Linked DNA regions of Homo sapiens: region 1 is linked to region 2. Evidence: promoter capture Hi-C in 16 types of primary human blood cells and fetal thymus (Javierre and others, 2016). All regions are on one chromosome and are shown on one strand. Each heading gives the region's core, a stretch centred on a gene start or on the middle of the fragment in contact. The rest is flanking DNA. Distances are from core to core; before and after follow the strand shown. Region 1 has its middle 7.4 kb from the start of ITPR2. Region 2 holds the start of DNAI7 (dynein axonemal intermediate chain 7).

Region 1 (4,095 bases), core at 733-3,232, 1.6 Mb after region 2:
TTGCCCCAGCCTGACTTCTTCCCAACCCCTTCAGCTCCACCCCTGACACTATTATCCACAGGCCAACAAACCTCTTGGGTGGGTTCTAGCAAGTCTGGCCTCCTTTTGACCACATGAGATTTAGGCAGGGTCTGCTTCATGGTGTTGCAACCTGTGCAATAGCACAGGGCCCCATGATTGGTTTGATGTTTTGTTGGTGCTATCCTGAAATTCTTGATTATTTTTTAACAAGAGGCCCCACAATTTTATTTTTCACTGAGCCATGAAAATTTATGTAGGTAGTTCTGGATACAGGCATCCTTACCATGCCAAAGACTGGGCATGTAAACGGCTCCACTGATCCCCCTCATTCCATCAATGTTTCTATCAATCTCCAATTCCTTTTTCCCTACTCAGACAGATCAACAAATCTGACATACCAAATCACTTCCAATTAGAACATCCAAGGCCAGGCTCTTGTAGGTGAGAGGTGACAGTGTGCTGGCAGCCCTAGCTCGCTCTCAGCGCCCACTCTGGCTGCGCTTGAGGAGCCCTTCAGCCAGCCGCTGCACTGTGGGAGCCCCTCTCTGGGCTGGCCGAGGCCGGAGCCAGCTCCCTCTGCTTGCTGTGGGGTGTGGAGGGAGAGGCGCGGGCGGCAACCGCGGCTGCAGTGCACTTGTGGGCCAGCTCGAGTTCCGAGTGGGCATGGGCTGGGCGGACCCGCACCCGGAGCAGCCGGCCAGCTCCGGCCCCGGGCAATGAGGGTCTTAGCACCTGGGCCAGCAGCTGCGGAGGGTGCGCCGGGTCCCCCAGCAGTGCCAGCCTGCCAGCTCTGTGCTCGAATTCTCACCGGGCCTCAGCTGCCTCCCTGTGGGGCAGGGCTTGGGACCTGCAGCCCACCATGCCCAAGGAAAAATCTCTGCTACTCCTCACTAGGCCAAAAATGAACAACTCTGCTAATTCACCATAATCAATTTGTATTCAGTGTGGAGAGTTTTGTGAATTTGCTCTCTAATAAATATACATTAGTCACGTATACCTCCTGTTGTGAAATGTTGGACTAAAAATGTGTCCTTAAGGCCTCTGGGTCAAAGCTAAAAGGAAAAAGGTGGGCGGGATAGGGGAGAATGTAACCATCTCAGCCACTATCATCTTAACAGTCATGTGAGACAGATCCTGTGGCCATTTCCCCTATCCCCAGCCACCTTTCCCCCATAGTGTAACAGCCCAATGGGGTTAACCCCACCCCCAACTCCAAGCATGGTTCTTAACTAGGCTAAACCAGTGTTTCTCAAGCTTTAGTACACATAAGAACCGCCTGGAGAACTTGTTAAAACACAAATCCTTGGGCCTTAGCTCCTGAGATTCTGATTTAGCTTGTCTTGGTGGGGACTTACTAACATTCCTGAAGGGGGTGATTGTATGTCGGTAGGGGTTGGGGAGAAGAGGTTGAAACAAACCTTGGCTAGTGGCTCAGAAAATGATCTGTTTTTAATTTTTATTTTGAAATAACCTCAAACTTACAGAAATAATCTCCAATTTACAGAAAAGTTATAAGAATACCTGTGACCTAAATTCAGTAATTTTTATAATTTGCCACATTTGTTTTATCACTGCCTTTACACACGTACGCATGCAATTTATTTTCAGAACCATTTGAGTGTAGGTTGCATACATCATGCCCTATTGCCTTTTAATACTTCATGTATACCTAAGAACAAAGATATAGCCACAGAACAACCATCGAGTTCAGGAAATTTAACTCTGATATACCACTGTCTCAATAGTGTCTTTTACATCATTTTTTTCTTCCAGGACAGAATCCTATTTAGAATTACATATAGCATTCAGTTTTCATGTTTTTTTTGTCTCTTTTAATCTATAACAATTCCTTAGCCACACTTTGGCTTCAGTGACATTGACATTTTTTAAGAATACAAGCCATCTGGCCAGGCACAGTGACTCACGCCTGTAATCCCAGCACTTTGGGAAGTCGAGGCGGGCAGGTCACTGGAGGTCAGGAGTTTGAGATCATCCTGGCCAACATGGTGAATCCCCGTCTCTACTAAAAATACAAAAATTAGCTGGGCGTGGTGGCAGGCACCTGTAGTCCCAGCTACTGAAGAGACTGAGGCAGGAGAATTGCTTGAACCCAGGAGGTGGAGGTTGCAGTGAGCTGAGATCGCGCCACTGCACTCAGCCTGGATGACAGTGCAAGACTCTGTCTCAAAAAAAAAAAAAAAAAACAGAAAAAAAAAACAGAAAAAAGAATACAAGTCATTTACTTATAGGCTGTTCCATAATTGGATTTGTCTTGTATTTCACACTTAGATTTGATGAAGCATTTCTAGCCAGAATACTACAAAAGTGATTTTGTGTTCTTCCCAGGGCACCCTAACCTTAGGCACACGATGTATAGCTATATCTGCTCTTTGTTGACAGTGTCAGTTTTGATCACTCTCAGAGTGTTGTCTAGTGGACAGGAATTTAAGAATAATCCCAAACCAGATCTGTTTTGAAGATGTGGCCCAGAAGAAACAATCTTAGCCTGGGAAAACTCTGGAAATGCAGGCCAATCTCCAGGCAACAAAAAGTCTGACATTCATCTCAAAAATATTGTCTATCACATCTTTTGACCCTTAACCTCTCTGTTTCCAAAGCCAGAGTTTGACATCAATCTACTGTGTTTCCCTACCTGCAGGAGACAAATATAAGCTTTCCATGTGGTGCCTTTGAAGTTCTTCTCACTAGATTAGATCTGAGAGTCAAAGACTTCCCTCCCCATGACTGACACACACACACACGCACACACACATGCATGCACACGTTCTTCTCTCCTGCACTGGGTATGTACGGCGTGAGACGCAACAGAGCAGTAGCTCATTCCAAAACACTCACATCTCCAACAGCCCAACTGTTTCATATCCTTGGTCTGGGAGAAAGATTTTTAAGCATTGTATCCCTTGTGGTCAAATATTTCCTTTCAAAATTTGCATCTTGGTCTTACTGATGGTATTTCGATGCCTCCACTGAAACTCCCAACTTCACATCCCATTAAAATATTCTTCTGAATATTATATATATTCACCATAATCATATGGTGAATATTATATATATATATTATTTGAGGGTCACAGTTCTTAGAAGTATTTACACTACTTGCTGCTGAATCGCTTATGGCTTGATCTGACCCTAATGTCATAATTCTGTAAGGGCTTGGAAATGAAAAAGAGGAGAGGTGTTGTAATTAGAAGTATTTTATGAAGAACTGATACAACTGATACCATTTGGTTCTAAGAACCATGATCAATTAGAGCTGAGAATCATCAAAATATTGAAGAAAAGAGAAAATGGCCCAGTCTCTATAACAGAAAAGAATGGGGAGTTTTAAGAAAAAAATGAGCCAGTCACTGTGGTTCACACCTGTAATTCCAGTTCTCTGGGAGGCCAAAGTAGGCGGATTGCTTGAGCCCAGGAGACCAACCTGGGCTGCATGGCGAAACCCCATCTCCACCAAAAATACAAAAATTAGCCAGGCGTGGTGGTGCATGCCTATAGTCCCAGCTACTCAGGAGGCTGAGGCGTGAACCCGGGAGACAGAGATTGCAGTGAGCCAAAATCACGCCTCTGTGCTCCAGACTGGACGGCAGAGTAAGACCCTGTCTCAAAAAAAAGTATGCATATCTAAAATCTTGCCTACTTCAATTTGCAGTGATTCTTCCCCAAATACAATTTAATGTTCCCATGTAGATGTCAGAAAGCATTTATCAGGCACTTAAATGAATCCCATACCTGTATGCCACAATAGTTAAGGACACAAGTATTGCATAGACCTGGGATGAGTTACTAATTCACAATTTACTCTCTACCAGGCTTTATGCAAATACATAACCTCTGGGGCCTCGTTTTACTTATCTGTAAAATGAGGACAATAATGGTATCTATCTCATGTGGTCTTTGTGAGGTTTAAATTAGAAGTTACATTTAAGGGGCTTGATGTGGTGCCTGGCATAAAGTGCTTAATAACCTTTCATGTTTTTTGTTTTGTTTTGCTGTTTTTTAGAGAGAGGATCTCACTCTGTCATCCAGGCTGAAGTGCAGTGGTGCAGTCATAGC
Region 2 (4,302 bases), core at 1,503-4,002:
AGGGCATAAGAATCATATGGGAAGCTTGTTAGAAATGCATATTTATGGACTAAACGTGTGTATGCTCACTTCTCTTCCTACACTGTGGTTTAGTAGATGTTATGGGCTGAATTGTATTGCTCAAAAAATTACATGTTGTCCGGGTGCGGTGGCTCACAGCTGTAATCCCAGCACTTTGGGAGGCCGAGGCAGGGGGATCACCTGAGGTCAAGACCAGCCTGGCCAACATGGTGACACCTCGTTTCTACTAAAAATACAAAAATTAGCTGGGCGTGGTGGCATGCACCTGTAATCCCAGCTACTCGGGAGGCTGAGGCAGGAGAATCGCTTGAAGGAGAATCGCTTGAACCCGGGAGGCAGAGGTTTCAGTAAGCCGAGATCGCGCCATTGCATTCCAGCCTGGGCAACAGAGCGAAACTCTGCCTCAAAAAAAAAAAAAAAAAAAAAAATCATATGTTGGCTGGGTGCACTGGCTTACTCCTGTAATCCCAGCATTTTGGGAGGTCAAAGTGGGAGAATCACTTGAGCCCAGGAGTTTGAGGGCAGCCTGGGCAACAAAGCAAGACCCTGTCTAAAAAAATTTAAAAATTAGCTGGGTGTGGTGGCACGTGCCTTGTACTCCCAGCTATTCAGGAGGCTGAGTTGGGAAGATTGCTTGAACCAGGGAGGCTGAGACTTCGATAAGCCATGATGGTGACACTGCATTGCAGCCTAGGTGACAAAGCGAGACAGTCTCAAAAAGAAAAAAAAAAAAGAAAAAAAATTCATACGTTGAAATTCTGATCCCCAGTACTTCAGAATTTGATCTAATTGGAGACAGGGTCACTGCTGATTTTATTAGTTAAATTAAGATGAAGCCATACTGAATAGGGTGGGCCCCTAATCCAATATGATTTGTGTCCTTATATAATAATAATTTTAATATACTCAGATGGAGAATGCCATGTGAAGAATGAAGTTTTGTTGCCACAAACCAAGAAACTACTAGAAGCCAGGAAAGGTCTGAACAGATCTCTCCCTAAGGCCCTCAGAGGTATCACAGACCTGCTGACACTTTGATCTTGGACTTCTAGTCTCCAGAACTACGAGACAATAAATTTCTTTTCTTTAACCACTCAGTTTGTGGCAATTCCTTACTTGGCAGACTTAGGAAACTAATACAGTAGATTTGGAGTTGAGTGGGTTCCTGGAATCTGCATTTTTAACAAGTACTCCGGGTGCATTAGAAATAAATGTTCCATGGGCCACACTTTGAGAAACATTGGGAGAAGGATCTAAGAAGAAGAAGAAACTCAGGTAACAAATTGGAAGGTAACAAGTAAGTGCTTACTGTTCCCCCAATTTATTAGCAATTATAAATTGACTTAAGGTCCATTTGCATTCCGCCAGGAATGCTCTCCACTCCCTATTTCTTTTTTTCTCTTTTTTTTTTGAGACGGAGTCTCGCTCTGTCACCCAGGCTGGAGTGCAGTGGCACAATCTCGGCTCACTGCAACCTCCGCCTCCCAGGTTCAAGCGATTCTCTTGCTTCAGCCCCCTGAGTAGCTGGAATTACAGGTGCGCGCCAACACGCCCGGCTAATTTTTGTATTTTTAGTAGAGACTGGGTTTCACCATGTTGACCAGGCTGGTCTCGAACTCCTGACATCGTGATCTGCCCGCCTCGGCCTCCCAAAGTGCTGGGATTACAGGGGTGAGCCACCGCGCCAGGCCTCCACTCCCTATTTCTTCCCACCATATGTGGAAAACTCGTATTTATACTTTAAAACAGGTTGAAAAGCACCACTCTCCTTCCCTTGTTTCCCCTCACTGAAATTTCATCATTTCCAACTGTGTGTTACCCCATTTTAGATGCTTCAATTGTTACAGTTGTAAAGCTGTATTGTAATTAATTTGTTTAATCTGTATCCTATAAGCAGAGTTGTCGTCATGTTCTTCTTGGTATTCTTGGCTTCTAGCCCAGTGCCAAGTACAAAGAATGCACTCCACATTTTTCCCTTAATTAATGAATTAAATAAGTAATTACATTCTCCACTTCCTCTGGTTTTAATTATAGAAAATGTCTTGATGGAAACCACATTTAAGAAAATCAGAGATACTCTCATAGCTACATGTTGGCCTGTCTCCTTGCTGAAAACATGGCAGTTGAGGAGTGCAGAAAAACAAAATGAGAAGCCTTATCATATTTAACTAATGCAGGATGAGAACCTTGAATCACAAAACAATTCATATTCCCACAAAAGACGACATAAAATATTTTTTCAAAGCAGAGTAAATTGCATTAGCTTTTAATTAACTGCTGGAGAAGTACTAAAACATTTCCGCCAAGTTGCAATAAGAAAATTTAGTGGGAACGTCTATCACTACTGAAAGTTACTAGGTTGGGACCAATTTTCAAGCTTAGCAACATTCGAGATCAGGATACCGTGTGACAGCTTTGACCATCTCCCGTTTGCAGAAACTGGTTTGGGACTCCTACCTGTCCGCCTGGTCCAGGTAAGGAAAGCCATTGCTGAGAAGAGGGCCGACCCACCCCAAGGTATGAGTTATTTCCCAAACCGACCCGCTTCGCTGTAAAATATGACTGGCTCTTGATTACATTATTTAACACTGGTGAAGCAGAATCAGTGGTCGCCCCTCCACCTGTCTGCCTCATTTGCCTTGCTCACCATTAAGAGTCAAGCTCCACTGCAGTAGTCCGCAGAGTCGGAGCAGAAATTGTGTGGACAAACGCTCCCGGGTTGCCCGGACGACAGGCCCCGCCCACTTGAGCTCCAGGAAAAGAGCGCAGCCGCGCGGAGGCTCTTCCGGCCGGCGCCCCGCCCCCTTTACTGACAGGTTGCCCACCTCCCCCAACGCCACCCCGCTTCGCAGTAGACGGACAGAGGAGTCGTAGCGGTCGAGGCTTTTGCGGCTCCGGCGTGCCGGAAAGTGCGTGAGTGCCGCCGCCGGGGAGTTTTGTTCCATTTCCCGGATCCTGGGGTCTGGAGGCGAAATATGCTCTGGGCGAGGACCACCGGGTGTGGGAAGAGGGTTCTGAGCGTCTCCTGACGTTGACGGTTTATTTCCTAGAGTGTGTTGGGTCTTTCTGTGAGGGTTTCGAGAAGGAAACAGGCATGCGACTGGTTCATGCAGCGGACACCCGGTGGGAGGCCTGGGCCTCTGCGGTTTAATCCAGCAGGGGGATGGGGCTCATTCCGCAATTTAAAGAGAGAAATAAGTTGGCTCCAGAGGGTTGGTTATTTTAAGATTAATGACCTTCGGATTCTTCTTTCTGCTCTATTGTTTACTTTCTGTGCAGCGTACGCGTCCTTTTTCCTAAGAGCGCCCTAAACAAGAATTGAAAATGAAGCAATTCCTGGCTAAAATATTCCTTAACATGAAGATCGCTGAGGCCCCAAAGACTCATTAGTTTCCCGAGGTCACAGACTAATTTTACTAACCACACAACCTTTAGAATTTCAGTCTCCTCCCACATGAAGAAACGCCGGCACCTTACACCGACAGGAAAACTACAATTAAGTGAGGCTGTTCTCCTCAAGCCCGACTGAGTTCTCTGTAATTGTAGGGCATACCTACACCCTGTTTTAGCATTATGAGACCTGAAATACTTTTAAATTACTGGCACCATTTCTCATCTCTGAATTATAAGTTTATAATGCTCTATCCCTTCCAGTGTTATTGACTACATGCATTATTCATAGATAAGTAGTAGGACTAAGCTAGTCTTTGTGGGTTAAAGTGTTATTATCCCTATTGTAACCTGTAACTATTATAGGTTGTGTAATAGTTATTAGCATTTTACATCCATATCCTGGTAGCAAGATAAAAACATTTTAATAGCGACTTCGTACAGAGTTCTTACTCAGTTTACCATAGCTGTTTGATATGAAAGTTAAGGCTTCCTTTTAAATTAGTTTCAGTAAAACTAATGTTTAATGATAAAACACCTCAGTCAACTCAAGTTAGGATTCATCGGGGTAAGGAGATAGTTCAGTAATCCCAAGTTACCTTAAAATAGTGGGCTTTTAGAGGAAAGGCTTTACTGAAGCTCTCACTGTATCTACCCCATGGGGAACAATGATTAACAACTTTGGCCACCACATAACCCCCAGTAAAATGACAATTTTCCATTAGCCTGGAACTGGAACTGGTTAAGTCCTAACTCCTTAGCCTAGAATGACAGGGGGAAAAAACTATCAATGGGGACTGCAACCGCTGTCTCATCCAGCGCACACATCCAAGTTTTCAGAATAATAGGGGGCTTCTCTTAGTCCTTAACTCTTGGCTCTTTACTTAAAAC

Evidence for each region. Contacts are between HindIII fragments. The CHiCAGO score rates a contact against its expected background, and 5 or more counts as called.
Region 1: a contact is called between a fragment that was not itself captured here and the fragment with the promoter of DNAI7 in region 2, in 1 of 17 cell types (fetal thymus). The highest score is 5.3, in fetal thymus.

What each region holds. Positions count from the first base shown.
Region 1 is chr12:26,838,559-26,842,653 of GRCh38, forward strand. No RefSeq gene overlaps it. Among named protein-coding and RNA genes, the nearest start is that of ITPR2, 7.4 kb to the left of the region's middle. The HindIII fragment of the contact is 1,419 bases long and covers 1,274-2,692 here.
Region 2 is chr12:25,192,408-25,196,709 of GRCh38, forward strand. It overlaps DNAI7 (dynein axonemal intermediate chain 7), which reads right to left and starts at 2,753. Exons shown (of 16, transcript NM_018272.5): 1 at 2,669-2,753. The coding sequence starts at 2,671. It overlaps ETFRF1 (electron transfer flavoprotein regulatory factor 1), which reads left to right and starts at 2,830. Exons shown (of 3, transcript NM_001001660.3): 1 at 2,830-2,930. RefSeq lists an enhancer at 3,071-3,190. The HindIII fragment of the contact is 2,518 bases long and covers 2,397-4,302 here.